Regions from separate parts of the Homo sapiens genome. Here all the other regions are linked to region 4. Evidence: promoter capture Hi-C in 16 types of primary human blood cells and fetal thymus (Javierre and others, 2016). All regions are on one chromosome and are shown on one strand. The core of a region is centred on a gene start or on the middle of the fragment in contact, and the rest is flanking DNA. Distances in the headings are between cores, read along the strand shown.

Region 1 (3,616 bases), core at 983-3,482, 360 kb before region 4:
TGCCTGATTGCCCAACCCCCTCACCTTGCTACTCTTTACTTACCAGGGCCTACAAAAGGAGGGCCACCCACCATGGGAGGAACTACTGTGGCTGCAGCAGCTGCTCGGGCCTCCAGAGTCTGCTGGACCTGTCGAGGAAGAGGTCAGGGTGAGGGGCCTGACTCAGCATTCCCATCTGCTGCGGCCAGCTCACCCCAAGAGACCAAGAGCTTCATGCTTTGTGCTCTGTATGTGGCTGGCTATCTCAGGTCTTAGCTAAAATGCCACTTCTCGGGGAGGCTTTTTGGATCACACTAGGGCTCTCTGAGCAGCAACTTCTCTCACCACCTTATTTCATCTTCCCCACAGCACTTAGCACCCACTGAAACTGTGTCCAACCTGTCCTCCCCATCTCCCATGCACAACCTCCATCCAAGCCACCATTAACTCCTGTCTAGATTACTGTACTAGCCCCTTCCTCCATCTCCTGGCTTCTGCCCTTGTCCCTTACAGTCTTTTTTTTGAGACGGAGTCTCGCTCTATTGTCCAGGCTGGAGTGCAGTGGCACGAGCTTGGCTCACTGCAACCTCCGCCTCCTGGGTTCAAGTGATATTCCTGCCTCAGCCTCCGGAGTAGCTGGGATTATAGGCGCCCGCCGACACGCCCGCCTAATTTTTGTATTTTTAATAGAGACGGGGTTGCACCATGTTGGCCAGGTTGGTCTTGAACTCCTGACCTTGTGATCTACCCGCCTTGGCTTCCCAAAGTGCTGGGATTACAGGCGTGAGCAACCGTGCCTGGCCACCAGGGTTCTTAAAATGGCCATAAGGCTCTACAAGATTTGGCCTCACCTCTCTGTCCTTATCTCCTCCCACTTTCCTCTTTGCTCACTCCACTGTCACTGGTCTCCTTGCTGTTCCTTGAACACAACAACACAACAGGTATGCACCTGCCTCAGGGCTTTTTTTTTTTTTTTGAGACGGAGTCTCGCTCTGTCACCAGGCTCCAGTGCAGTGGCGCAATCTCAGCTCACTGCAACCTCCGCTTCCTGGGTTCAAGCGATTCTCCTGCCTCAGCCTCCCAAGTAGCTGGGACTACAGGCACGTGCCACCACACCCAGCTAATTTTTGTAATTTTAGTAGAGATGGGGTTTCACCATGTTGGCCAGGATGGACTCGATCTCTTGACCTCGTGATCTGCCCGCCTTGGTCTCCCAAAGTGCTGGGATTACAGGTGTGAGCCACCACGCCCAGCGCCCAGCCTATTTTCATCTTAATAATTTCTCTCTCTTTCTCTACTAGTCATATATAGTTGGCTACTGAGCACTTGAAATGTGACTAATGAGAATAACGAACTATTAAATATAAATTTTAAATATATCAGAACAGTCTCGTCATTGCAGAAAGCTCTACTGGACAACATGTTCTAGAATATAAGCTCCCACAGGGCAGAAATGTCTCTCTCAGTCATTACTGTGTTCTCAGTGCCTGGCATATAAAATATTTGTCATGCTAATTAGTCAACAAGCCAAAACGTCAACAGCTCTCTGTACACAAACACCTACTCTGTTCGAGGCATTGTGTTCCCTGACTTACATGCCTTAGCTCAGCCGTACCTGCTGGTATGTGTTGGTCGCGATAATTGGGCGGATCACAGGAGCCGCTGGGACCTGCATCGCTTCTACTGTGGGGACCGTGGGGACAGTGGGCACCGCAGGCACAGCAGTTGGGATTCCAGGTACTGGAGCCCCCAGAACTTCCTGCTCAAACCTGGAGGAGTAGAACAGACATCAGCGCTCAGGACCTCGTACCAATTTTGGAACTGTGGGTATATCGCGAGGGGACCCTCACCCCTGCCAACCTCTCCCCTATCCCCGCCCCCACAATCCCGAAGGTCCCACTTCCCCATGTTAGAGCCGTATCTCCGGCCTATCGAGGCCTGGAGGCTCCGAGATTCGGTGGCTCTGGCTCTGGGACGACTTTTATCACTCTCTGTCGCGGGCCTTACAGGGCCATCTCCGCCTCCATTTCCTTCAAGCGTTCCTCGCCGCTTTTGCCCGGGATGCCAGCGCCAGGACCCGGGACCACGGGTCCTCCTGCACCCGGGAGTCCCGGGGCTGGCCCCGCCCCAGCCATCGCTGCCGTCGTCGCTGTCGCCGCTACTACAGTCTCTGCTTAGCCGCCGCCGCTGGTTCTGCTGTCTACTCTCCCCCTTCGTCCGGGTGGGCTCCCGAGGATGACGTCCAGCAAAAGCGACGGGCGCTGGCGCATGACGTCATACATTCGGGCGCGAGAGCCAATGAGATTTGGCCACACCCTCAGGGGGAATATAGGCCAATCAGAGTGAGAGAAGGACACACGAACGCAAGAACCTGGGCCTATGAGAGCACAGCGGAGAGGCGGCCCCGCTTTCCTGGAGGACCACCGGCTAATGAGAGCGAAGCAAAGTCAGTTGGGCCCATCCCCAATGTGGAATCTGGACCTTTGAGATCGCAGGAAAGTTTGGAGGACCCTCCTGTGCCACCGCAGAGCCCGCGCCGGAAGTTTAAAAAGACGCTAAAGTCCGTGTCAACCCCAGGGTTGGGCAAGGCTGGGAGGCCTGGCTGGCCCCTCGGGGCCCCTATCCTGGAGTAGGTTGACACCCGACCTGTGGTTTCCAGGAAGACCGGAGACGCCCGGGAGGAAGCGCCTGACCCGGCTTCCTGGAGGAGGACAGCTGAAGACATTTAAAGATGAGAGCTGTTCAGGGTGGGAGCCAAGGCCCAGAGACTAGTGCAACTCAGAGGAGCACGTCCGTGGGCTTGGTCCCTGTCCTTTCTTGGGCCACAGCTGACCCTTTTTTTTTTCCCGTAGCCCTCACAAGTGTTTTATTCTGAGTATTTTCAAACATGCACATTAAGGGGAATAGTATAACGCACTCTTAAGTACATCTCAAACGCTACCAATATTCAACACTTCTGGATTTCACTTGATCTATACTTCTTTGTCACGCGCGTCCGTGTGAAGAGACCACCAAGCAGGCTTTGTGTGAGCAACAAGGCTGTTTATTTCACCTGGGTGCAGGCGGGCTGAGTCCGAAAAAGGAGTCAGCAAAGGGTGGTGGGATTATCATTAGTTCTTACAGGTTTGGGATAGGCTTATAAAGTACATTCTCAAGGGCGGGGAGAATGTTACAAAGTACCTTCTTCTTTTTTTTTTTTTTTTTTTTGAGACGGAGTCTCGCTCTGTCGCCCAGGCTGGATTGCAGTAGTGTGACCTCGGCTCACTGCAACCTCCACCTCCTGGACTCAAGGGATTCTCCTGCCTCAGCTTCCCTAGTAGCTGGGATTACAGGTGTGTACTACCACACCCGGCTAATTTTTGTATTTTTAGTAGAGGCGGGGTTTCACCATGTTGGCCAGGCTGGTAGCAAACTTCTGATCTCAAGTGATCCACTCGCCTCGGCCTCCCAGAGTGCTGGGATTACAGGCATGAGCCACTGCGCATGGCCTTATACTTTTCTTATTTTTATATTTTTTTGCTGGAGTATGTTAAAGCAAATTCCAGACATCAACTCAGTCATAAATGCGCCATTATGTCTCCTTAACAGATAAGAACTATTTTTTTTTTTTTGAGACGGAGTCTCGCTCTGTCGCCCA
Region 2 (3,902 bases), core at 96-2,595, 490 kb before region 4:
CGGCTGTGGAGCATGTTGGGAATTGTAGTTCCAGTGCGGTGGAGCCCTAGCGACTCCAGACCGTATCCAGCCCGTCCTAGGCTGTGCTGCTCTCGCCGTTGGTCCTCCCCAGCCTCCTGTAGTCCCTGGAAGAGCGATCGGCCTCACCTGCGGTCCATCCCGCGGCTCCCTCCGCGCTTCCGGCCGCTCTGCTCCTTCACCCAACAGGCCCCGCGCGCATCTCCGTCGCTTAGCAACGCCCTATCAGCCCCGCCCCTCTCTGTGCCCGCGCCGGAGGCGAGCGGCCTCCAAGGCGACCAATGAAAGAGAGGAAACAGAAGTACCCGGAGGGAGGTGTTTCAGGATTGGCTGGGACGACTGCCTGCCCGACAGGGCGTGTTTGATTGGAGAACCTGCCGAGTGTAGCAGTAATTGGCAAGACCGTGCACCAATGGGAAGGATCTGAGGCTGGGCTTGCGGTTAGGAGGTGATCTAAAGTACCCTCGCTTAAAAGTCCCGCTTTTTAAGCGCCTTCTTGCTGCAGAAGTCCTGTCCCGACCCCGGTCTAACTACCATTCTTTCTGTTGCAGGGGCAGTGGGGCGGGTTGGGGGGGGGGCGCGCTCTGCCCTCTCTCTAACCGCTATTCCTCCATCAGTTGGGCCAATCAGTCCGTCCCAACGGTCATCTAACTTCTTTCTTGCTGCAGGAGCAGCTGGTTGCATCAGTTGCCAGGTCTGGGCTCCTGGCCGAGGTAGCGGGATCAAAATGAGCTATTTCCAGCCCCAGCGCGCGGCCCCCGGGGGGCCAGCCTGAACTGTTCATGCTCGCGCCCCCTGGCCTCTGCGCACCAGAGGCTGAGTCAGAGGCACAGAATTAGGCCCGGCCTGCCGGGGGACTGGGCCCAAGGTCTGGCTGAGGATAAGGGTAGGGAGGGCCTGTTCTATGTCCTCCTGACATCCTGGCGGGGCTACCGCATTCTCCAGGAATCTGCTCCTAAAGACCTCCATCTGCGTCATCCTCAGAGCTGCCAGGGGGGAGGCAGTGGATTAAAGGGACTGGAAACTCTTCCGTGGGCCTCTTGGGTCCTGGGCCCCAATCACCACGCTGTGCTCCCCACACCCGCAAGGCTCCCCCTCCTCAGCCTTAGTTTCCTCTTCTGGAAATTGGGGAATCTTCATGTCACCTTCTTGACAGCATTTGCCAGGCATCCAGCAGGCGCTTAATAAATGGCCAAGTCATTGTTTGGGTTTCTAAATAAGGCTCTCCTAATGGCCGGGTCTGGCCACGGTCCCAGTGTCCCTGGGCAGCCCTCCGAGGGGCCGGCACAGGGCGCACTATAAATGAGCGGCTGCGCACGCAGGGGCACTGCAACGCGGAGGAGCAGGATGGAGATCCCTGTGCCTGTGCAGCCGTCTTGGCTGCGCCGCGCCTCGGCCCCGTTGCCCGGACTTTCGGCGCCCGGACGCCTCTTTGACCAGCGCTTCGGCGAGGGGCTGCTGGAGGCCGAGCTGGCTGCGCTCTGCCCCACCACGCTCGCCCCCTACTACCTGCGCGCACCCAGCGTGGCGCTGCCCGTCGCCCAGGTGCCAGGCCTGGGGAGGGGTGAACTCGACCACTTCCATTGCCAGGGGTCTGGGGCAGCCTGGGGTGGGAACATGTGAGAGAATGTTCGTTGGCCTTGGGCGGGGTGGAGAGTCCGCAGCTCCGAAGGGCTTCCGGAGTCAATGGGAATCTGAGGCCCGCACACTGCAGCGGGTGGGAGGTCCCCGTCGCTCTTAGGTGGGGGGCGGGGTGGGGGGCTCTCAGCTCTCCAGAGAATGGAAGGCCTGGGTCACTCTAAGGGGAGTCTTGCTTACTCTGAAGGAGGCTGGTGATCCGGGAAATCTGGGGAAAAGGAGGCGGGCAGTGACTCCTGAGGGGAAGGAATGTTCTTAGTCTCGGGGAAGAGTTGAGAGACTGTGTGCGGTGGCCCGATATCTCCAGAAGAGGAGGGGAGAGGGCCCTGCGACTTGAGGAAGGGTTCCCGGCCACTCTGAAGTGGGGGAAGGCTACCAGTAGCTGCCGAGGTCCCGTGACTCGAGTGGGAGAGTAGGCAGAGGACCCTGGAGACGGGGAAAGGGGCATCTTGGCGAGTTTGGCGGGGCTGGCGGAGAAGGGACCCGGGGCTCTGAGGAGGGAGCTGGGGAATCAGTGCCCTGGGGGGCACGATGACTTCGGATTCGCTGACACCGGGGGAGGGCAGAGGTTCCTGACCTTGCAGGGGAAGGGAGCCTCATCACTGCGGGGGAGAGGGCAATCCCAGATATTACAGGGGGAGGGCGTATCCCTGTTGTTCAGGGTGAAGAGGTCCTGGGTGACTCCCAGTAGGAGAGCTGACTGCTCAACTCCGGAGGCCAGAGTGAGCCGCGGCACGGAACCGACGGGGGTGGGGTCTCCCTGGGTGGGTCCTGGAGCCTGGCCCAGCCCAATGACAGTCCCGCCCGCGCCCGCTGCGCTCAGGTGCCGACGGACCCCGGCCACTTTTCGGTGCTGCTAGACGTGAAGCACTTCTCGCCGGAGGAAATTGCTGTCAAGGTGGTGGGCGAACACGTGGAGGTGCACGCGCGCCACGAGGAGCGCCCGGTGAGCCGCGGCGTGGGGCGGGGCTGGAGCGGGTACGCTCGCCGCCGGGCCGGAGGGGCGGGGCCGCTCAAGCCTCCCTCCCCTCCAGGATGAGCACGGATTCGTCGCGCGCGAGTTCCACCGTCGCTACCGCCTGCCGCCTGGCGTGGATCCGGCTGCCGTGACGTCCGCGCTGTCCCCCGAGGGCGTCCTGTCCATCCAGGCCGCACCAGCGTCGGCCCAGGCCCCACCGCCAGCCGCAGCCAAGTAGGAGGGGGCTGGGCCGCGCCCGCACCCCGGGAGCCTCCTCAGGCTCCCTCTATTAAAGCCGATCTGACTCCGCCCAGCCAGATGTCCCGAGTGCGCCAAGGACTGTCCTCTCACCCACTCCTGGATTCTGCCCTGACCTCCATCCTGGACACTGCCTTGATAACATAGACCCTTCCACTGACACCCTCGCTCTCACACCCCCTCCAGCTTTCCGACCCCACACCGACAACTCCCCGGCTTCCAGACCCTACCAGCACTACCCTAACCCTCAGCCGACAGTCTCAGCCCCACCGACCCACTTTCTTGGCATATAGCCCCACTTAAGACCCCTCCTCTACTTCCTTCTGAGTCCTCTACAAAGACATCCGGGTACTACATTTCCATCCCTTCCCTATTTTGACACCAAATTATGGTGTAGACAGCCCTCCCCCAACCCCAGGCCAGTCAGGCACAATCCCCCCACCCCCCAAACGTCCTGGACTGCACAGACCTCCCACTCCAGACCATCCAGGCCTGGTTCCCAAGACCCGATCCTTCCCCTGCAACCAGACAGTCTACAACTGCCCCCTCCAGCCCATTTTCTGCCGTGAAACCCCAGCCAGCCACACCAGACTCTGGAACCCTTTTTCGACTGCCCCAACTCTTGGACACCAGGCCAACTAGAACACCCAACACCAAACTGTACAGACTCTCCCACCCCAACCTCCCCAGACTCTGCACGGATGTCCTAGGCCCCCTCCCCAACTCTAACCAGACCCCATCCCCCTAAGTCCCTTTGTCTTGACCCCCAAGTCTTCAACCAGATATCCTCGGCAACCCACCTCCCACCCTCCTCCTCTTCTCCTTCAAGACCCAACTGAGCACCCGCTCTGATTCCCCACAGCCTTTCTCCCTGCCACCACTCCCTTAGTCTTTCCCAGGCTTACTCTCCCAATAAATGTGCTAGAGCTCTGCCAACTGCTTTGTGCCTGGGCCAGGAAGGAGGGACCGGAGCAGACACCAGTGTGGAGCTGGGGGATGTTTACTGGTGTGGGGGGACCTGGGAACATCA
Region 3 (3,479 bases), core at 49-2,548, 340 kb before region 4:
AGGAAAACGAGGCCAGAGTCAGCGGATGAGTGGGGCTTCTAGGGGGGAGGGCAATAGGTGTGATGCTGTGGTGGGGACAGGGCTAAATGGGAGTGGGGAAGACAGGAGGGGATAGCTTTAAGAAGCAGTTACCAGAGTAGGTTTCCCCGGATCTTCTTGACAGTCCTACAGTGCAGAGGCAGAAAGAGGAGTTACTATGGGCCTCACCTGTGCCCCCTCCCCTGCTCTAGCCCAGCTTACCTCTGACTGTGCACATGCTGCAAGATGTAGGCCCAGATGTCAGCCCCCTGGCCCAGACACAGCCTGTGGGGACAGTGTGTAAGCATATGCCTGGGGCAGCACACAGGGTGTGGGATCCTCATTCCTAGGGTGATGGTGGTAGGGAGTTTTTACTAGGGAGTTCTCACTTCTTGAGGAGGGAAGGCCCAAACTTTTTTTTGCCTTTTTTTTTTTTTTTTTTTTAAGAGACAGTCTCGCTCTGTCGCAGTGGTACGATCATAGCTCCTTGCAGCCTCAACCTCCTGGGCTCATGCGATCCTCCCACCTCAGCCTCCAGAGTAGCTAGGACTACAGGCAGGCACCACTACACCCGGCTAATTGGTAAAACATTTTTTTTGTAGGGACTGGATGTTTGCACTAAGTGTGGTGTTATTCTCATTCCCTGGGAAGGCGGGTGGTGGGGGAGCGCGGGAGAGGCGGGTGCTCCCTTTCTCCTGGGAGTGGGTTATCCCAGTCACATCCAGAGGTGGAGGTGGGGGATGTACTGCCAGGAAGTGCCATCTCATGACCAGACGTGGGGCATCACTCCTACAGCTTCAATCCCCGATGGGGTGGCCACGGCTAACTCCTGAGTGTCCTTCTTGGTTAGGTTAAGGGAGGGAGGGGAGGTGCTGCGGGGACAGCCTCACTCTGGAGATCCTATTTCCATAAGGAGCGAGGTCTTAGCTAACTCGTGGAGGATCCTCACCAGTGCTAGGGACCTCACTCTGGGGAGCCTCCCAGGGTAGGGAGCCCTCAGTAAGTCGGGTCACTCTCGATGGGGAATTGGGGGGAGTCGAGTCCTCAATGAGGGGTGGAGTTCTCACTCCCGGAGACTCAATCTCCAGGGTGGGGTGTCCTCACTCCAGGAGCGGTCCTCACCTGCGCAGCGTCGATTCCGGGGCCCGGGCCGCCACGGGCACCCCCATCTCTTCGACCGCCCAGCAACCCAGTTCCCGCGCTTCCTGCGCTAGCTCCATGACAGCGCCGCGGCGGCGACACCGCCTCCCTCAGCCTCTTCAAGTGTGGCGCCCGCCTCTGACGTCACGGGCGCGCCAACAGTGACGTCATCGGTTGCCGGGCAGACAGCGGGCTCGGGCGCTGCATAGTAATCTTAGCGCGGTCAGGCTGGGTCTTGCAGCGCTCACTCTTCCCAGGTAGGTCTCCTTGAGTGGAAATGAAAAGGGCGTGGAGAGACTGCAGCCCCGCCCGCCTTCCCTCGTTCTCCCGCTCACTACCAGCTAACCCGAAAGAGGCAAAACAGTCCTTGATGCTTCCATTTATTTTCTTTTTCTTCTTTTAACTAAACACTTTTATTTTAATAGAGATGGGATCTCACTTGTTGCCCAGGCTAGTCTCAGCTTCTGGGCTCTTGAACTCCTGGGCTCAAGCGATCCTCCCGCCTCGGCCTCCCAAAATGTTGGGATTACAGGCGTGAGCCACCACGCTCACCCCCTTTATTTTCTTGACAAAATGGGACTTGCGTCCTAGGAGGACTGGAACCAGGCAATGAGATCCTGGACTTACTGCTCTTTGATTTCAGAAACAGGTGTCTCATGTCTGAGTGGAGGGTAGGGGCAGAGAGCATGACCCTAACATTTCCCTGGCATGCGTTTTCCCATTCATTCGTGCTTACCATTCCATAAACTCAGGGAGCTGACCCTGTGCTGGGTGATGCTGGGGACACCATGGTGACCACAACAGCCCTGGTCCCTATTGTACGGAGCTCACAGTTGAGTGGGGAGACAGACGCACCACCAGGTAGGGGTGGTAAAAATAAGCAGCAGGGGTGGGTCAATTTGGGACACAGCAGGTGTGAGAGGTCTGCGCTAGACCAGCAGTCCCCAACCTTTTGAGCATCAGGGACTGGTTTCATGGAAGACAATTTTTCCACAGTCTGGGGGATGGAGGGTGGGAGCAGTGGATGGTTTCGGGATGAAACTGTTCCACTTCAGGTCGTGAGGCATTATATTCTCTGTCTCTCTCTCTCTTTTTTTTTTTCTTCCCTGTTTTTTTTTTTGAGGTGAAGTCTCCCTCTTTCACCCAGGCTGGAGTGCAGTGGCCCGATCTCGGCTCAGCGCAATCTTTGCCTCCGGGGTTCAAGCGATTCTACTGCCTCAGCCTCCTGAGTAGCTGGGATTACAGGCGCCCGCTACCATGCCCAGCTAATTTTTGTATTTTTAGTAGAGACGGGGTTTCACCATGTTGGCCAGGCTGGTCTTGAACTCCTGACCTTAAGTGATCAGCCCATCTCAGCCTCCCAAAGTGCTAGCATTACAGGTGTGAGCCACCATGCCCCGCCTAAGCATTAGATTCTCATAAGGAGTGCGCAATCTAGATCCTTCGTATGCACAGTTCACAATAGGGTTTGCGCTCCTGTAAGAATCTAATGCCGCTCCTGATCTGGCAGGAGGTGGAGCTCAGGCAGTGATGCTCACCCATACGCCACTCACCTCCTGCTGTGCAGCCTGGTTTCTAACAGGCCATGGACTTGTATTGGTTCACGGCTTGGGGTTTGGAGACCCCTGCCCCTGCCCTAGATGAAATACTTCTCTGATGCTGACTAACCAACCATGCTTAAAAGCAAGGCCCGAAAGGATCAAGCTATTATTTAGCTGCATTCCAGAACAAAATTCAAGAATATTTATAGAGATTAAAAAAAATCCAGCATCCAACACTGTAAAATTAACAATATCTGACATCAGTAAAAAATTATAAGGCAATGGCTGGGCGTGGTGGCTCATGCCTGTAATCCCAGCACTTCGGGCGGTTGAGGTGGGAGGAATGTTTGAGGCTAGGAATTTGAGACCCACCTGGGCACCACAGCAAAACCTTGTCTCTATTAAAAATTAAAAAAAATTAGCCAGGCGTGGTGGTGCACGCTTGTAGTCCCATCTACTTGGGGGGTTGAAACAGGAGGATCAGTTGAGCCTGGGAGGTTGAGGCTTCAGTGAGCTATGATGGCACCACTGCACTCCAGCCTGGGTGACCCTGTCTCAAAGCCAAAACAAAACCAAACCAAAATAAAATAATCATCTGTATTCATGTTTCATAATATCCTCAATGGGTTTGTGCCTTTTTGGTACAGCTGTCAAGCAGCTCAAGAAAGTCGTGGGCTTTATCCGCTTAATGTAAGTGGCCGCTCTTGACTCTGGTTCCCAGGAAGACCTTCAACCTGGCCCCAGCCAAAAAGGCTACAAGCTGGCCCCCAAGAACTCACA
Region 4 (3,901 bases), core at 520-3,019:
ACGTAGAACTGGCCTGCAGGGAGAGTGGGGGGTTAGTGGCAAGGCAGGGTGAAGTCAGAACTGGCTGGGGGGGCTTCCCTCCCTGCTGGGCCCGTTGCCTCCCCCACCTGCCAATCTGACTTCTACTCCTCACCTCCAGCCTGCAAGCTCTGGTCTGTGGTCTGTACGGACACAGCCGTAGTATCTCCCACACTGGACGCTGGGAAATAGGCAAATCGTGCCTCCCCGCTGACAGCCTCGGCCGCCGGACTGCCACCATTGCTGAAGGGATTTTGGATCACAGCCTGGGGAGTAGGAGGGCAGAGGCTACCCTTAGCTTTCTCTGTTCCTCCATCCCGTCCCCTCATTGCTGTGCTTGGGGTTTACTGCATTCTCTGCAATTAACAGGAGTGGGGACTCCTTCTGCGTGTAGCATTCTGTCCTGTGTTTCAAACAGCCCTGGAACATGGCGGGAGGTCAGCGATCACTTGCTGAGCAAATCCGTTTCGCACTCTAAGAAACTTTCCTCTTAAGACACATCATTCCCATTTTGCGGGAAAAAAAAATTCCAAGAGCACTGTCCCCAGGTTTCACGGTGCACAACAGGGATCTGGCCCCATGCAGCCTGAGGCCTGAAGGCAGCATCCGCTGGGCGACACCTGCCCCACCCCCGGGGCTCCCCAAGAGCAGAGCCAGTGTCCCCTCTCCACTCCCTCCCCCCCCCACCCAGGGGTGGCAGGGCACCTACCAGCGGGAAGGGCGCTGCAGGACCTGGGGGCACAGAGGCAGCGGCGGGGCCCGGGCGCTGGGCTGCCCCGTCCACACCCACCTGGGTCACAGCCTGCTGCCCCCCCGCGAAGGCAGCGGTGGACACGACGCTGACGGCGCCAGCTGTGTCGCCCTGGCCGTCCAGCTGACCATCAGTCACCTGGACTACGCGGTATGTCACCTGCAGGGGGCGGCAGAGCGGCGAGGCCGGCGCTGGGGCCAGGTCCGAGCCTTCCCGGCGCGCCCGCCCGCCCGCCCGTTCGCCCTCGCGGCCCGCCGCTCACCTGTCCTCCATTTGTCTCTGTGCGGAACTGGTACTGGATGTTGTGGTCGCCGAACGCCGCCTGCTGGACGCTGGTGATGGCCACCGCTGTCTGCTCCTCCGCTCCTGGGCCGTCCCCGCCTGGGGCCGAGGAGGGTCGGGGCACGGTCAGGGCCGCGCCGAGCGCCCCCAGCCCTCCCCGGGCGCGGCCGGCCCGGCAAGCACTCACCTTCCTGCAGCTCGACGCCCTCCTCCGCCTCGGGTCCCTTGTCGTGGCTGCCAGGGGCACAGGAGGGAGCAGGGTCAGCGCGGCCCGCGCCCGCGCCCCCGCCCCCGCGCCCAGCTGCAGGGCCCCAGTCCCACCCGGCCGCGCCTGAGGCCGGGGGCGCCGCCGAGGCCGGGGGCCGGGGGCGGGAGGCGCCAGGTCCCCCCCGCGCCGGCGGCCTCCATTTTGAGCCGGGCCCGCGGCCGCTCGGGATCATGGCGGCCCCGGCCTGCAGGCCGCGGGGCCGGGGCCGGGGCCGGGGCGCGGGGGCACGGCCGGGCCGGGGATCTTACCTGGCGGCGGCAGCAGCGGTGGCCGAGGCAGCGGGATCCAGACCCGGGTCCAGCATGTCCATGGGGGGGGCGGGGGCGGGGGGGGCGCGGGGCCCGGGGGGGAGGGGAGGGGAGGGGAGGGAGGGAGGGGAGGGGGCGGGCGGCCGGGGGGGCCCCGAGCCCGGCGCTCACGCCGCGCGGCAGGAGGGGACGGAGGAGATACGGGAGCCGCTCGCGCTGATCACGGGGACAAACAGTGGGGTCATGTGAGGAGGAGATGCCGCCGCCGCCGCCGCAGCCGCCGCCGCTCCTGCAGCCGCTGCAGCCGCCGCCGCCTCCGCCTCCGCCCGCCCGCCGGCTCCGGGCGGCCCGAGGCTCCGGGACGCCGCGCGGCCGCCCCCAGCCCACCCAGCTGCCCGCCCGCTGCACGCGGCCCTCAGGCCTCCTTCCCTGAGCAGCCGCCGCCGCCGCGACTTTTTTTTTTGAACACGGCCCGCCCTGGCTGGCCGCCGCCAGTGCCCTGGATCGCCGGCTCGCGCGGCCGCCGCCCGGCTTGGCCCAGTCCGGCGGCGGATCGCTGCTGCAGCCGCCGCCGCTTTCTATTTTTCCCCCTTTTTTTTTTCCTCCTTTACTTGAGCTGCGCGCGCGCGGCGGCGGCGGCGGCGGCGGCGCGAGCCCCGGGGCGGACGCGCGCTGGGGGGAGGCGGCCCGGGGCGCGCGCGCTGGTCTGTCTCCGGGGGCGGGCGGGCGCGCGCGAGCCCGGGGCTCCGCGGGGCGCGAGGTCGCCGCGCGCCGCCCTGGTGAAACGCGGGTCTGGATGGAACGTCGGGGTACCCGGTGCAGGGGCTGGGGTCGTCGGGGGCCAGGTGGGCTGCCCGAGTTTGGAGACAGTAAAGTAGGTCGGTGGGGGGCTGGGGGGGATGGGCTGGAAGGGGAGAGGAGCGCGCGCGCGTCCCGGACGGCCAGCCTGCGGTGCGCGAAGGCGGAGGGCCGGGGCGCATGCGCACGCCTGGGCGGGGCCGGGGCGCGCACGCAGGCGGGCGGCGGCTGCGCGGGGCACGTTCTCCGGCCGGCGGCGCGGGCGCGGGCCGGGCCAGGCTGGGTCTCTTCCTCCCGGCCCCGGACTCCGGTGCCCCCGGGACGCGGCGCTTTACAGACGCATACGGGAGCAGCCCCGGTCCCCCGCCCCGCGCGGCCGAACAAATGGTTCTCTCCAGAGCTTGTGATTATACGTTTTATTAGACTCGGGAGGGGTATGGCAGGGCTTCATCAGTGTTCCTTCAAATTAAAAAAAAAAATACAAAAGCTACGTAGAAAACGTCAGATCAGACGACTAAACTTTCCCGACTCAGGGCCAAGTTCTGCAAGGGAGAAAGAAAGAAGGGTATGAGCCGCGGGGACCGGCTGGGGGCCCAGGGACGGTCTGGACGCCAGGGAGGGCGGCCCTCACCTTCTTGAGCCTGCGCTCTCGGGACGCCTGCGAGTCGGTCTCCGAGTACGGGGGCGGCGCGGGCGGGTAGTAGGCCTCTTCCTCCTCCTCCTTGTGGGGTCTCCTCCTCTCCTCCGACCCCTTCTTCCTCACAGCCTCCTCCAGTAGCCGCCCATCATAGGGGAGGTCCCCGGACCTGGAGCCGTTGTCCCGAGGGTCCCGGGTACGGTGGTGGTGGGACCTGGGGTCGGCAGGAGGGCGCTCCCGAGACCTGAAGTCGTCGTAGTGGGGGTCCCGGGAGCGTGGGAAGTCCCTCGAGTCGTCTTGGTCATAGAGGTCGTCCCGGCTGCGGCTCCGCGGGGGCATGTAGGCCCGGCTTCTCCCACCATTACTCGTGGGAGACCTGCTCCCTGACTCGGCGGTGCTCGGCGGGGTGAGGTCGTCCAGGGCGTCCACGGAGCGGGCCCGGGGCCGCCTGGCCCGCCAGCCCCCGCCTGCCTGCTCCCTGGCGGGCTCCTGGTCCCATCCCCTGGGACTCCGGGGGGAGTGGCCACCCCACTCCTCATCCCGGATCGGGGTGAGGGCAGGGCCCCGGGAAGGCCGAGATCGCCAGTCGTCCTCGTGGAGGGAGGTGACTTCACTCATGGCTGCAGGGAAGGGGGGTGTCACTGACTGCTGGAGGAGCCCGGGGTCCAGGGTTTGCACCAAGAGTCCCTGCGGCAGGTATCAGGGAGACATGTTTCACCCCCCCACCTTAAAAGCCCTCAGACCCCAAGGCTCCTGCTTACCCCGCTCCACACGGCCACTGGGGGGGCCAGGTCGAGAAGGGTCGAAGTTGGCCAGCTCCTTCTCCATGTAGTACAGGACCCGCATGGAGTCGTCCTGCTGGCTGGCCTGAATCCTGTAGCCACTGCGGACTTCTAGGG
Region 5 (3,795 bases), core at 1,296-3,795, 460 kb before region 4:
CCTGTGCCACCTGCTCTCACTGGACACCAACGCTAGACTCCACAGGCCTGGCAGTCTCTGTGGCAGCTGAGATGTGACGACTCCCTTCCCTGGGCCTCTGGGACACCACTCTTCTGATCTTCCCACTGTCCCTGACCCTCATCTCGGTGCTAGCTGGGCTGCATTCCCTCTAGATGATCCTAGAACTTCACCTTTGGCTACTCTAGGAAGCTCTCTCTCAGCTCCTGGCAGGCTAGGCTCTGAGGCCCTCCCCTAGGCTCTTGGGCATGCTGGACAAAGACCCTTAAAAGGATCCCACGTAGAGGCGAAATGTCATTTCCATGTCTGTTTCTCCCACAAGGCCAGAGGCTCCCCAAGGTCATCTCTAACTCTAGCACCGAGCCTCAGGCTTGGCCCCTGGGAGTAGATACTGGTTTTGAAAGAGGGCTGATTTTGCATCTGTGAGTCACCCAGCTGAGCCAGGCACAGGCAAGGAGGGAGAGGGCAAGGCCGGTCCCTACCTGAATAGTGGTGCCACTGGGACTCAAGCAGCAGGTCTGGGGGACCATCGGGGACCTGGGGAGGACCATCTTCCGGAAGTGGCAGCAAAGGGGACCGTTCCTGGAGGGGCCTGCGAGAAGAGACCTGTCAGGAAGGGGAAGGACAGAGGTCCCAGACCCTCCAGGGAGAGGGGCCTGGCCACTCACCCAGGACTTTCTTCCCCAGCGGGCTCCCCAGGCCGATCCAGGTCAAGGACCCCACGCACTGTGGGGGTTTTCATCCTCACACGGCTAAACCTGGGAGGGCGAGCCCGAGAAGGATGAGCCGCATCTCCCGCCCATCTGCCCCCTTGCCTGCTCTGCCAGCCTCAGCACCCGCACTCACCCGCCACTGCCAAGCCCTGGAACCTGAGGGGTATCCTCTGAGGCCTCTCCATCTTCATCCAGCCGGGGGGCTTTGTATGGGGGAGGTGCTGGCGGGGACCGGCCGGAGAAAGTGGACACCCTCTTGACGCGGATGGCCTGGCGGGGCGGGCTGGCTGGCCCACTGCTCAGCACCAGCGTCAGGGGAGGGGGTGGCGGGGGCGGGGCAGGGCGGACCACTCCGACCACGGGCAGCACGCCGAGGAGGGGGCCTGGGGGCAGAGTCCAGGAGGTGGGAGCCGTGGGGGAAATGGTGGGGGGCAAAGGTGGCTGCTTCACTGGGGGTGGGACAGGTTCACCCTCCCCAGCCATCTTCACAAATACTTGCCCCAGCTTGTTGACAAGTATGATTTTGGATGTGGCGGGTTTGGGGGGCTCAGGGGCAGGGCCAAGGCTTAACACCCGGACCCCTGGGGCCCCTGGGAGCCAGGCAAATGTGCGGGTGGGGTCAGCTGGGCTGGCGGTCAGGCCTTGGGAGGGCTGGCTGCCATTAGCCAGGGGAGGCGCCGGGGGGAGTGACTCCTCTCTAGGGCCAGCACCTCCATCCCCAGGACCCCCTAGGTTCTTCAACACAAAATCCACAATTTCCGATGGCAGGTCCTCAGGAGGCCGGGCCCTGTCCCCTGCAGCCCCAAGGACCCCTGCCCGGACTACTCCTGGCCCCGAAGGAGGCGTGCCCTGGCCCCGAGGCTGCTGCACCGCCTCAGCCTCACTGTCAGTGCCGTCGTCCACGCCGTCCAGCTGTTCAATGCGGGGGGCTCCAGGGGTAGCGCTGGGGGCCAGACCAGGGGCGGACACCACAGTCACAGGGAAGTGGATGTAGCGGGAGGTGGGGCTGGACTCCTCCTCGGAGCTGTCCCCCGGGCCCCCGTGGCTGCTCCCCATGGCCCCAGCGGCTACAATCTCTTCCTGGAAGGGCTCAGTCCCCAGCAGGCTGGCCGCGAAGTCCAGGTCAGCAGCACTCAGTCCTGACACCACCTCCATGTCCTCGAAGTCTGGGCCCAGGTCTTCAGGGGGTGGTGGAGATGGGGCCGGGCCAGGGGGAGCCAGCTCCCCTGAGGTAGGTGTGAGGGCTGTGACGACTGAGGTAGGAGGGGGCACCCTGAGCTGAGGGGAGGTTTTTAGAGGAGGGGAGGCCCACCGTGATGGAGGCGGCCTGGGAGCCAAAGGGCTGGGACGACGGGAACGTCTGGGGGGAGCTGGGAAGTCCGGGTCTCCCACTGTGGGGATGTGGTGGGTCAGTGAAGATGGACTTCCTGTGGGGGGAGGGTTGGTGTTACCAGCAGCTCCCACCTCCGCGGCTCCACCCCCAACCCCCACATGCCCGGTGCTCACCAGGGGAGGGCAGGGGGCCAAAGGAGACACCCCCCAAGGGCCTCCGGGATGGCGAGTAGTTGGGCACTTTGATTCGAGCCCCCGAAAAAGAACGGGGGGCTGGAGGAGGGGCGCTGCCTGAATCTGGCCGCAGTGGAGGGTCCAGGTTCTGAATGGGCGAGTGGCGCTCAGGAGCTCCAGGGACAAGAACATCTGTGTCCAGTGGGGGGTCCTCACCACCTGGGGGCTCTGAAGAGGCGAGAAATGGCATTGGGGTGGTAGGGGCTCTGTGTCAAAGCCTGCCCACATGCTCTCATCCTGAGCCACTATGCCTCCCAGGTCCCCGACCCTGACCCAGTCACAACAGGCCCCAGTTTCCAGTGACCACCCAGGCTAAACCCACCGTGGAGTTGGCAAAACCTGCACACACCTGGGCCAGGGGGCCTTCAGGGCCTCTCCCCACTCGCTCCTTGCCATCTCCTCTCTGCCTCTGCTGCAGGCTTTGCACGCCATGGGGAACTGCCCTCCCTCCAGCACGGCCAGTCCTACCACTTTCTTACTTGCCTGGTGCATCCAAGCCACATCAGACGCTCCCGCCCGCCCCGGCCCGGAGGCTCTCCATTACCTGGCTCCACCCAACCTCTGCAAACTGATCTCCCTCCTCCACCCAAAACTCCCTGGTTTCCAGACGGGATGGGTGTACCCTCCTCCTCTGTCCACTTCTTGTCATGCTCCAACCTGGAATAAAGCCCTTCCTACCATCCAAATCTCTTCTGCCTCCTGCTCTGCCCACAATAACCTCTCCCCCATCTCCAAGCCCATTCTTTGCCCTGTGCCATCCAGCTCTCAGCCACATCCCACAGCCAGTGTGGCTGTAAGGGGGCCGGTTTGGGAGCTGAGCAGATGCAGTTCCAATTCCAGCTTCCCTAGCATGTTACTGTGTTCAGCCACTGTCCCCTTCAAGGTGTAGTATGGCGACACTGGAGAGCGCTCCATGAGCACAGTGCCCCAAGTTAGGGAGCTGTAAGCACTCTACTCCCTGCAGTCGTCCAAAAGCCAGTACCCCACCTCAAGTAGGCAGCGTGCCGCTCTCCCCACCTCACTTCCCATGAAAAGCCGGGCACAGCCCCTGGCACACAAGGCATGGCAGTAAGCGAGCTGCCGTTACATTACAGCAACTGAAGCAAAAGCAAGCCTCCTGGACTTTCCAAAAGGGAGCGGGGAACAGAGATCTGTAGGTTTGTTTAGGGAGAGCGGTATTCAGGAAGAAGACAGAGCCAAAGCCACACCTGAGGAAGGGGCGGGGCTGTGCACAATGGTCTGGTTCTCCTCTGCAGCCTCCAGGTGAGCTGGCTCTTCCCTCGGCCCCCATGGCCGATACTCCAGAATTCGGCACCGATACCAGCAGCGCCTCCGAGCATCCACTGTGCTCCAGTACAGACGGGAGCACCTGGCATGTGGGATAAGACGGTTAGGATGCTTGGGAAATGGGATCCAGCTATGGAGTCCCCTGGCCCCATGGATCACCCCGACCGCTCACTGGTAGCCAATGGGGAAGAGCCGTCCCTCGCAGTCCGAG
Region 6 (3,871 bases), core at 728-3,227, 420 kb before region 4:
ACAATCCTCACATCTCAGCCTCCCAAAGTGTCCTCAATTTTCTGAATGGATTTTTATGAGAGGAACTTTAATACCAGGGATCCTATTTTGGTCATTTTGTCCAGCAGGGCTGGGAGCAGCTCTTCAAAAAGACCATTTTCTTGTCCCTTTACCTTCCCTGTTTTGCATGATTCTGTTTCCATTTGTAGAGGATCTGAGAAGGCAGCTGATTCTGTGAGAAACAATGATTCTACTTCATGTTTTAAATAGATCTGTTGGGTTAAGTGACAAGTCCCTAGCTAGACTCAAGAAGGCACTGGAGAGCTATGGTCCTGCCACTGTACTCCAGCCTGGGCGACACGGTGCGATTCTCATTTTCTCTCTCTCTCTCTCTCAGACAAAGTCTCCCCCTATTGCCCAGGCTGGAGTCCAGTGGTGCTACCATAGCTCACTGCAGCCTCGAACTCCTGGGCTCAAGTGATCCTCCTGTCTTGGCCTCCCAAAGTGAGGGATTACAGGTGGGATTACAGGTGTGAGTCACTGTGCCTGGCTGAGACCCCGTCTTTTAAAAGAAAGGGGAAGGGGGAGGAGAAGGGGTAGGAAGAAGGAGGAGGAGGAGGAAGAAGGCGGAGGAGGAAAGAGGAGGAGAAAGAGAAAAAAGGAGGAGGGAAGAGGAGGAGGGTGAAGGAAGGAGAAGGAAGAAGGAGGAGAAAGGAAGAGGGATGAAAGAAAAGAGGAGGGAGGAAGAGGAAGAGGGAGGAGGAGGAGGAAGGAAGAGGAGGAGGGAGAAGGAGGAGGGAGGAGGAGGGAGGAGGAGGAGGGAGAAGGAGGAGAGGGTGGCAGTGGAGGTCACTCCCTATAATGTGGAGCATAGCAGCCACCTGCTGGTCACAGCGCAGTAGGAAGAACACAAAGCCCTGGAGTGAGGCAGAGGGGCCCTGGCTCCTCAGTGGCTCTCCAGCGCCCTCTATTGACAAAGCCTAACCTGGCACCAGATGACAAATGGAACTGAGAGGTAATAAATTGATAACCCACAGGTAAGTGATGGGGCCCCTGCTATTAATAAAAACAACAGTAATAATAACGACTACCATGGAATTCTCAGTGCTGTCTGTGTCATTTATCCCGGAATCGCTGGTGAAGGTTGATGGGGAGGGGGGATTGTGGTCCATTTGCCTCCAGGGTCGGCTCACCCTTCCCTAGGCTCAGGCTTAGGGTCTGAGCCTGCTCTGGGCAAGCACCCTCTCCCTCCTCCCAGACCAGACCCTATAGATGGAGCTGACTCCATCCCTGCTCCAAGGGCAGGCGTGTGCCCCGGAATCTGCACTTTCCCCAGCCCCACACGTGATGGCACAGCACAGTGTCAAACCTAGACAATGAAAAACATTCCAGAGGGGGCACCAGGCCCTCTCACCGTTTTTTGCTTTGTTTTGTTTTGTTTTTGTTTTTTGAGATGGAGTCTTGCTCTGCCACCCAGGCTGGAGTGCAGTGGCACGATCTTGGCTCACTACAACATCCACCTCCCAGGTTCAAGTGATTCTTCTATCTCAGCCTCCTGAGTAGCTTGGATTACAGGCACATGCCACCACATCTAGCTAATTTTTGTATTTTTAGTAGAAACAGGGTTTCGCCATGTTAGCCAGGCTGGTCTCGAACTCCTGACCTCAGGTGATCTGCCTGCCTCAGCCTCCCAAAGTGCTGGGATTACAAGTGTGAACCACCATGCCCAGTCATCTTTTTTTTTTTTTTTTTTTTGAGACTGTTATCTGGGCTGACAGAGTCAGTGGTGCCATCTTGGCTCACTTCAGCGACGACTGCCATACTCAAGTGATCCTCCTGCCTAAGCTTCCTGAGCAGCTGTGATGCAGGTGCTTGCCACCATGGCCAGCGATTTTTAAAAATTTTTTTATTGTTTTGTAGAGACAGGGTCTCACTATGTAGCCTAGGCTGGTCTCGAACTCCTCAAGCGTTCCTCCCGCCTTGGCCTCCTAAAGTGCTGGGATTACAGGCGTAAGCCACCGCGCCCCCCCGCCCGGCTAGGTTTTTGTTTTGTCTTTCATTCTTTTATTTTTCTCCTTAGCACTTATTAGCCTCTAACATGTGTTTTTCTTATTGGTTTTATCTATTTTCCCCTCTAGAAGGTAAGCTTTATTTATTTATTTATTAAGCTCTTTTAAATCTGGGAAGAGTTCCTGTAAGCTTTATTATCTGATTCCCAGGAAGCTTGTAGCCATTTTTCTAACACCAGCCAAGGACGCGGGGACCAGAGAGGAGGAATTGGTGGGCGTGGGACACCTGAGGAAAGGGCAGGGGTGTGTGTTTTTACGTTTTAGTTAAAAAAAAAAAAAAAGAACCAACTTGCCCTCATGGAAGGAGTGTAAGCAAAAGTGGATGTAGTCAGAGGCATGTGCCTGGCTTGATTGCTATATAACACAGTTTCTTATTTCCATTCTGTGATCTCAGATGGTGAGAGAGAGAGCTTGGCTCAGTGGAGCAAGAGAGAGAAAGAGATACCTGGAGAGGTGGCAAGGGGCCAAGCCACACGGGCCCTCAGTGCGAGGTGAGGAGGGCGCTGGAGAGCCGTGGAGGGTTAGAGGCTGAGGAGGGATGCAGTCACCTGGGGTGTGGGGGGAACAGCCATCAAATGGCTGCCTGTCCCTCAAGGGGTCCGGGCCCTGACATAGCCCTGACCTCTTTGCTCCCCTCTTACCCACAGGAGCCGGCCTCTGAGTTTGGGGGCTGGGGCGGACAAACCTGTCCTGCAGGCAGGCCCGCCTGGGTGAGGCCACGCTGCTGCCGGTCTGACTGAGCCACACTCTGCAGGTATATGGTAGGATGGAGCCCGAAAGCCAAGTGGCAGATGTGGGTCAGAGATGGCGGCCTACCTACCTGACTGCCCAGAGGTCAGAGGTCAGGTCAAACCCCGGCCTCCCATCTAGCAAGTCCTGGCCTATTATTATTATTATTGAGACGGGGTCTTGCTATTGCCCAGGCTGGAATGCAGTGGCACCATCACAGCTCACTACAGCCCCTACCTCCTGGGTTCAAGCGATCTTCCCACCTCAGCCTCCCGACTAGCGGTTACTACAAGTGCGCACCACTATGGCCAGCTAATTTTTAAATTTTTTGGAGAGATGAGGTCTCACTATGTTGGCCAGGCTGGTCTGGAAATCCTGGCCTCAAGCAATCCTCCTGCCTCAGCTCCCAAAATGCTGGGATTACAGGCGTGAGCCACTGTGCCCAGCCCTGACCTGTCTTACTGAGAGGTGACAGCGTGCTGGCAGTCCTCACAGCCCTCGCTCGCTCTCGGCGCCTCCTTTGCCTGGGCTCCCACTTTGGCAGCACTTGAGGAACCTTCAGCCCGCTGCTGCACTGTGGAAGCCCCTTTCTGGGCTGGCCAAGGCCGGAGCCGGCTCCCTCAGCTTGCGGGGAGGTGTGGAGGGAGAGGCGCAGGCGGGAACCGGGGCTGCGCGCGGTGCTTGCGGGCCAGCGCCGAGTTCCGGGTGGGCGTGGGCCCGGTGGACCCCGCGCTCAGAGCGGCCGGCCGGCCCCGCCGGCCCCGGGCAGTGAGGGGCTTAGCACCTGGGCCAGCAGCTGCTGTGCTCAATTTCTCGCCGGGCCTTAGCTGCCTTCCCGCGGGGCAGGGCTTGGGACCTGCAGACCGCCATGCCTGAGCCTCCCCTCTCCCCGTACCCCGTGGGCTCCTGTGCGGCCTGAGCCTCCCCGACGAGCGCCGCCCCTGCTCCACGGCACCTAGTCCCATCGACCACCCAAGGGCTGAGGAGTGCGGGCGCACGGCGTGGGACTGGCAGGCAGCTCCACCTGCAGCCCCAGTGCGGGATCCACTGGGTGAAGCCAGCTGGGCTCCTGAGTCTGGTGGGGAGGTGGAGAA
Region 7 (3,931 bases), core at 1,288-3,787, 300 kb after region 4:
ATCCCCAGTAGCAATTGGGAAGGTTTAAAATCTTGTGACCCCTGGCCCCTGGCTGCATGACTCCTAAACCATACTCTCTAATCTTGTGGCTTTTGTTAATCCTACAAAGGCAGTCTGGTCCCCAGACAAGAAGAGGGTTTGTTTCAGGAAAGGGCTGGGTTTTTTTGTTTGTTTTTGTTTTTGAGATGGAGTCTCGCTCTGTTGCCCGGGCTGGAGGCGATCTCAGCTCACTGCAAGCTCTACCTCCCGGGGTTCATGCCATTCTCCTGCCTCAGCCTCCTGAGTAGCTGGGACTACAGGTGCCCGCCACCACACCTGGCTAATTTTTTGTATTTTTAGTAGAGACAGGGTTTCACCATGTTAGCCAGAATGGTCTCGATCTCCTGAACTCGTGATCCGCCTGCCTCGGCCTGCCAAAGTGCTGGGATTACAGGGGTGAACCACCATGCCCGGCCTAGAGGGAAAGGGCTGTTATCTTTGCTTCAAAGTTAAACTGTAAACTGAGTTTCTCCCAAAGTTAGTTAGGCCTATGCTCAGGAACGAACAAGGACAGCTTGGAGGTTAGAAGCAAGATGGAGTTGGTTAGGTCAGATCTCTCACTGTCATAATTTTCTCAGTTATAATTTTTACAAAGGTGGTTTCACCATATGACATGTAGTATCGGGGGAACCCACCCCCGATAATTCAATGTGGGTTCTTTTCTATTTTCCCTAAGTGTCGGCTGGTCTGAGAAATAAAGGGAAAGAGTACAAAAGAGATAAATTTTAAAGCTGGGTGTCTGGGGGAGACATCACATGTCAGCAGGTTCCGTGATGCCCCCGAGCCATAAAACCAGCAAGTTTTTATTGGCAATTTTCAAAGGGGAGGGAGTGTACGAATAGGGTGTGGGTCACAGAGATCACATGCTTTAAGGGCAACAAAAGATCACAAGGCAGAAGGTCAGGGCGAGATCACAAGGTCAGGGCAAAACTAGAATCACTCATGAGCTTCCATGTCCTGCTGTGCACGCATTGTCATTTATAAACATCTTAACAGGGTTCAAGAGCAGAGAACTGGTCTGACTAGAGTTCGCCAGGCTGGAATTTCCTAATCCTAGCAAGCCTGGGGGCGCTGCAGGAGACTAGGGTGTGTTTCATCCCTATCTACATGTGCATAAGGCAGACACTCCCAGGGCAGCCATTTTAGAGGCACTGCCCTGGGAATGCATTATTTTCCCAGGGCTGTTAATTATTAATATTCCTTACTGGGGAAAGAATTCAGCGATATTTCTCTTACCCGTTTTTGGTAATAGGAGAAATATGGCTCTGTCCTGCCCGTCCCACAGGCAGCCAGACTTTAAGGTTATCTCCCTTGTTCCCTGAAAATCGCTGTTATCCTGTTCTTAAGGTGCCCAGATTTCATATTGTTCAAACACACATGCCCTACAAACAATCTGTGCAGTTAACGCAATCATCACAGGGTCCTGAGATGACATACATCCTCAGCTTACGAAGATGACAGGATTAAGAGATTAAAGTAAAGTCAGGCATAGGAAATCACAAGAGTATTGATTGGGGAAGCGATACATGTCCATGAAATCTTCACAATTTATGTTCAGAGATTGCAGTAAAGACAGGCATAAGAAATTATAAAAGTATTAATTTGGGGAACTAATAAATGTCCATGAAATCTTCACAATTAATGTTCTTCTGTCACGGCTTCAGCAGGTCCCTCCGTTCGGGGTCCCTGACTTCCTGCAACAATGTAGTGTTATTTTTCCCATTTTATTTACTGGATTTCAATGAGAGTCCCTGCTGTAAAGTTGGAGCCAGCATTGGAGTCCCCAGAGGGCTTGTTAAAACAGAGAAGGAGGCCTGGCACCATGGCTCACTCCTGCAATTCCCAACACTTTGGGAGGCCGAGGTGAGAGGATCACTTGAGCTCAGGAGTTTGAGACCAGCCTAGGCATCACAGGGAGATCCAGTCTCTACAAAAAATTTTAAAATTAGCTGTGTATGATGGTGCACGCCTGTATCCCATCTACCTGGTAGGCTGAGGCAGGAGGATAGCTTGAGCCCGAGATGGAGGCTGCAGTGAGCTATGATCAGGCCACTGCACTCCAGCCTGGACAACAGAACGAGACCCATCCCCCCCGCCCCCCCCGCAAAAAGTAGAGAAGGCTGAATCCCATCCCCAGAATTTCTGAGTCCTTAGATTTAAGTTGTTGCCCCAGAACCTGCATTTTCAGCCAGTCCCCAGGTGATGCTGATGTTGCTGGTTTGAGAAGCCCTGAATCAGAGCGACATTTAATATTACAACGCAAAGACCCCGCCCATTGGGTACTATCCCCATTTTCCAGTGTGAATTTAGGTCCCTTAGGGGTGAAGCGGCTGGCCGATGCCCACACGCGCAGGAAGAGCACTGGGGCTCTCCTCCTGGACCTCGGAGGGTGGGCGGGGTTTAGCGCGGGCGGCTGCAGGCTCGGGAGCGGCCCCTTTAAGGGGAAGGCCCGAGGGCTGCAGGCGGCGGCGGTGGAGACCCGACGAGATCCGCTCTCCTTCCCGCCCTGGACCCTCAGCCTGACGAGAGGCTGGGCAGAAACTCGCGATCCCCAGGCCCTGCCTGTGCACCAGCGGCTGGCGCCAGGCCAATGACAGTACGGGAGAGGGCAACTCTCCCGGCCGCCACGGTGGGGGCCGGAACTTCCTGCACTGCAGCCTCGCAGGTCATTTCCCGGCGGGGAGGCTGAGTCCCCAGGAGCTGGGGACCCCGAGTTGGGGGCGGGGCGGCTGGGGCTACGCCCGTGAAGCTGCCCCGCCGGCTTTCCCGGACCGCGAGGGGGACAGTGAGGCCGGGACCCCCTCCGCGCCTTTGCACCAGCCGTGACCCCTTGCAACGGGGGTACCCAGCGGAGCTGCGCGCTCTCGGCGCCCCCGGAGCCTGCGCCCCGGGCCCCTTGCGCATTTTGCACGGGGGAGACTGAGGCTAGGAGTGCGACCCTCAGCCCGGGGTCACACCTCGTCTGGGGCACGGCCAGGTGGGTGGTAGCCTCAGCCTGCGAGACCCCCTACCCCCGCCCCGTGGTTTCCCGCACCGTGGGGCCCTGCTCTGACCACAGACTCCGATGGCAGCGGCGGCGCTGCGGGACCCCGCGCAGGTGAGTGCTTGGACGTTAGGCCCTTCGCTGTCGGCCCCCCACGCTTCTGTTCTCGGTGTTGAGACGCAAAAGATGGCTTTGTTCTAGGACTTTTCGCCTTTCCCATTTCCTTGCTTTTGAGTCAGGGGACCCTGGAAGGGAGTTGCTCCCAGCTAGGATCCTGAATCAGGGCAGGGTTTATATAAAGTGGCTTCCGTTGCTGAAATGTAATGGGATGGAGGGAGAAAGGGCTTTGTAGGCACAGGAACCAGCGTGCGCAAAAGCTTGGGGGTGGGGTGGGGCACGGTGTGGAGACTGAGTTGGGAGTGTTCAAGGAACCCCACCCAGGTCAGTGTTATTAATATTATGTCTGCTGGAACCAGAGAGCAGGTGGGCTGAAGACAGCTCAGAACGGCAGAGCTGGGCCTCTGTTCTGAGGGTGTTGGGAGCCATGGAAGGTTTAGGGCAGAGGAGGAAGATGCTGTGACTCAGGTCTTAACAGGCTCCCTGTGGATGCACAGTGGAGAACTGAATATGGAGTGAGCCGCAAGCAGGGATGCCAAGGAGTAGCCTAATGGAATAGCCCAGGCCAGTGCTGCGGCTGGCCGGACCAGAGTGAGGACTGGAGGTAGAGGAAGTGATTGGGAACTTGATGTCTTTTAAGTCAAGCTGACCAAATTTTCCGATGTGGAGGGTGAGAAAGAGGAGGGAAGAATCCATGGTTTTTGGTTTGATGAATCCAGCTTTATGAACTGAGAAGTTGGTTTTAGGAGGAATTTTCCATGGAAGCAGTAGAAGTTAGGTTTTGGCCAAGTT

What was found. Contacts are between HindIII fragments. The CHiCAGO score rates a contact against its expected background, and 5 or more counts as called.
Region 1: a contact is called between the fragment with the promoter of RBM42 here and the fragment with the promoter of USF2 in region 4, in 1 of 17 cell types (neutrophils). The highest score is 6.2, in neutrophils.
Region 2: a contact is called between the fragment with the promoter of HSPB6 here and the fragment with the promoter of USF2 in region 4, in 1 of 17 cell types (neutrophils). The highest score is 5.3, in neutrophils.
Region 3: a contact is called between the fragment with the promoter of HAUS5 here and the fragment with the promoter of USF2 in region 4, in 1 of 17 cell types (neutrophils). The highest score is 7.1, in neutrophils.
Region 5: a fragment that was not itself captured here is called in contact with the fragment with the promoter of USF2 in region 4 in 1 of 17 cell types (neutrophils); the score reaches 5.7 in neutrophils.
Region 6: a contact is called between a fragment that was not itself captured here and the fragment with the promoter of USF2 in region 4, in 1 of 17 cell types (neutrophils). The highest score is 6.3, in neutrophils.
Region 7: a contact is called between the fragment with the promoter of ZNF792 here and the fragment with the promoter of USF2 in region 4, in 1 of 17 cell types (neutrophils). The highest score is 6.0, in neutrophils.

The regions. Positions count from the first base shown.
Region 1 is chr19:35,627,652-35,631,267 of GRCh38, reverse strand. It overlaps RBM42 (RNA binding motif protein 42), which reads right to left and starts at 2,232. Exons shown (of 10, transcript NM_024321.5): 1 at 1,987-2,232; 2 at 1,595-1,748; 3 at 44-128. The coding sequence starts at 2,114. RefSeq lists enhancers at 2,127-2,421, 2,570-2,809, 2,735-3,262. The HindIII fragment of the contact is 21,053 bases long and covers 1-3,616 here.
Region 2 is chr19:35,754,472-35,758,373 of GRCh38, reverse strand. HSPB6 (heat shock protein family B (small) member 6) reads left to right here and starts at 1,345. Exons shown (of 3, transcript NM_144617.3): 1 at 1,345-1,563; 2 at 2,480-2,602; 3 at 2,691-3,808. The coding sequence starts at 1,366. The coding sequence ends at 2,852. PROSER3 (proline and serine rich 3) reads right to left here and starts at 198. Exons shown (of 11, transcript NM_001367856.1): 1 at 148-198. The coding sequence starts at 158. LIN37 (lin-37 DREAM MuvB core complex component) reads right to left here. Exons shown (of 9, transcript NM_019104.3): 9 at 3,855-3,902. The coding sequence ends at 3,900. RefSeq lists enhancers at 1-193, 522-1,093. The HindIII fragment of the contact is 14,255 bases long and covers 1-3,902 here.
Region 3 is chr19:35,610,554-35,614,032 of GRCh38, reverse strand. HAUS5 (HAUS augmin like complex subunit 5) reads right to left here and starts at 1,298. Exons shown (of 19, transcript NM_015302.2): 1 at 1,141-1,298; 2 at 241-303; 3 at 133-165. The coding sequence starts at 1,238. It overlaps HAUS5-DT (HAUS5 divergent transcript), which reads left to right and starts at 1,369. Exons shown (of 2, transcript NR_186318.1): 1 at 1,369-1,415. RefSeq lists enhancers at 1,161-1,420, 1,009-1,564. The HindIII fragment of the contact is 7,658 bases long and covers 1-3,479 here.
Region 4 is chr19:35,266,830-35,270,730 of GRCh38, reverse strand. USF2 (upstream transcription factor 2, c-fos interacting) reads right to left here and starts at 1,769. Exons shown (of 10, transcript NM_003367.4): 1 at 1,568-1,769; 2 at 1,239-1,285; 3 at 1,032-1,150; 4 at 728-928; 5 at 134-284; 6 at 1-13. The coding sequence starts at 1,629. It overlaps LSR (lipolysis stimulated lipoprotein receptor), which reads right to left. Exons shown (of 10, transcript NM_205834.4): 8 at 3,764-3,895; 9 at 2,997-3,622; 10 at 2,767-2,907. The coding sequence ends at 2,872. RefSeq lists an enhancer at 1-413 and silencers at 701-1,020, 1,161-1,350, 2,509-2,658, 2,759-2,828, 2,909-2,988. The HindIII fragment of the contact is 13,161 bases long and covers 1-3,901 here.
Region 5 is chr19:35,730,578-35,734,372 of GRCh38, reverse strand. It overlaps KMT2B (lysine methyltransferase 2B), which reads right to left. Exons shown (of 37, transcript NM_014727.3): 25 at 3,757-3,795; 26 at 3,506-3,666; 27 at 2,238-2,465; 28 at 865-2,158; 29 at 687-776; 30 at 501-610. Among named protein-coding and RNA genes, the nearest start is that of IGFLR1, 10 kb to the left of the region's middle. The HindIII fragment of the contact is 6,974 bases long and covers 1-3,795 here.
Region 6 is chr19:35,690,992-35,694,862 of GRCh38, reverse strand. No RefSeq gene overlaps it. Among named protein-coding and RNA genes, the nearest start is that of ZBTB32, 12 kb to the left of the region's middle. The HindIII fragment of the contact is 301 bases long and covers 1,827-2,127 here.
Region 7 is chr19:34,962,835-34,966,765 of GRCh38, reverse strand. It overlaps ZNF792 (zinc finger protein 792), which reads left to right and starts at 2,537. Exons shown (of 4, transcript NM_175872.5): 1 at 2,537-3,136. The coding sequence starts at 3,104. It overlaps LOC124904699 (a long non-coding RNA gene), which reads right to left and starts at 3,340. Exons shown (of 2, transcript XR_007067236.1): 1 at 3,093-3,340. RefSeq lists silencers at 2,776-3,035, 3,146-3,195. The HindIII fragment of the contact is 6,406 bases long and covers 1-3,401 here.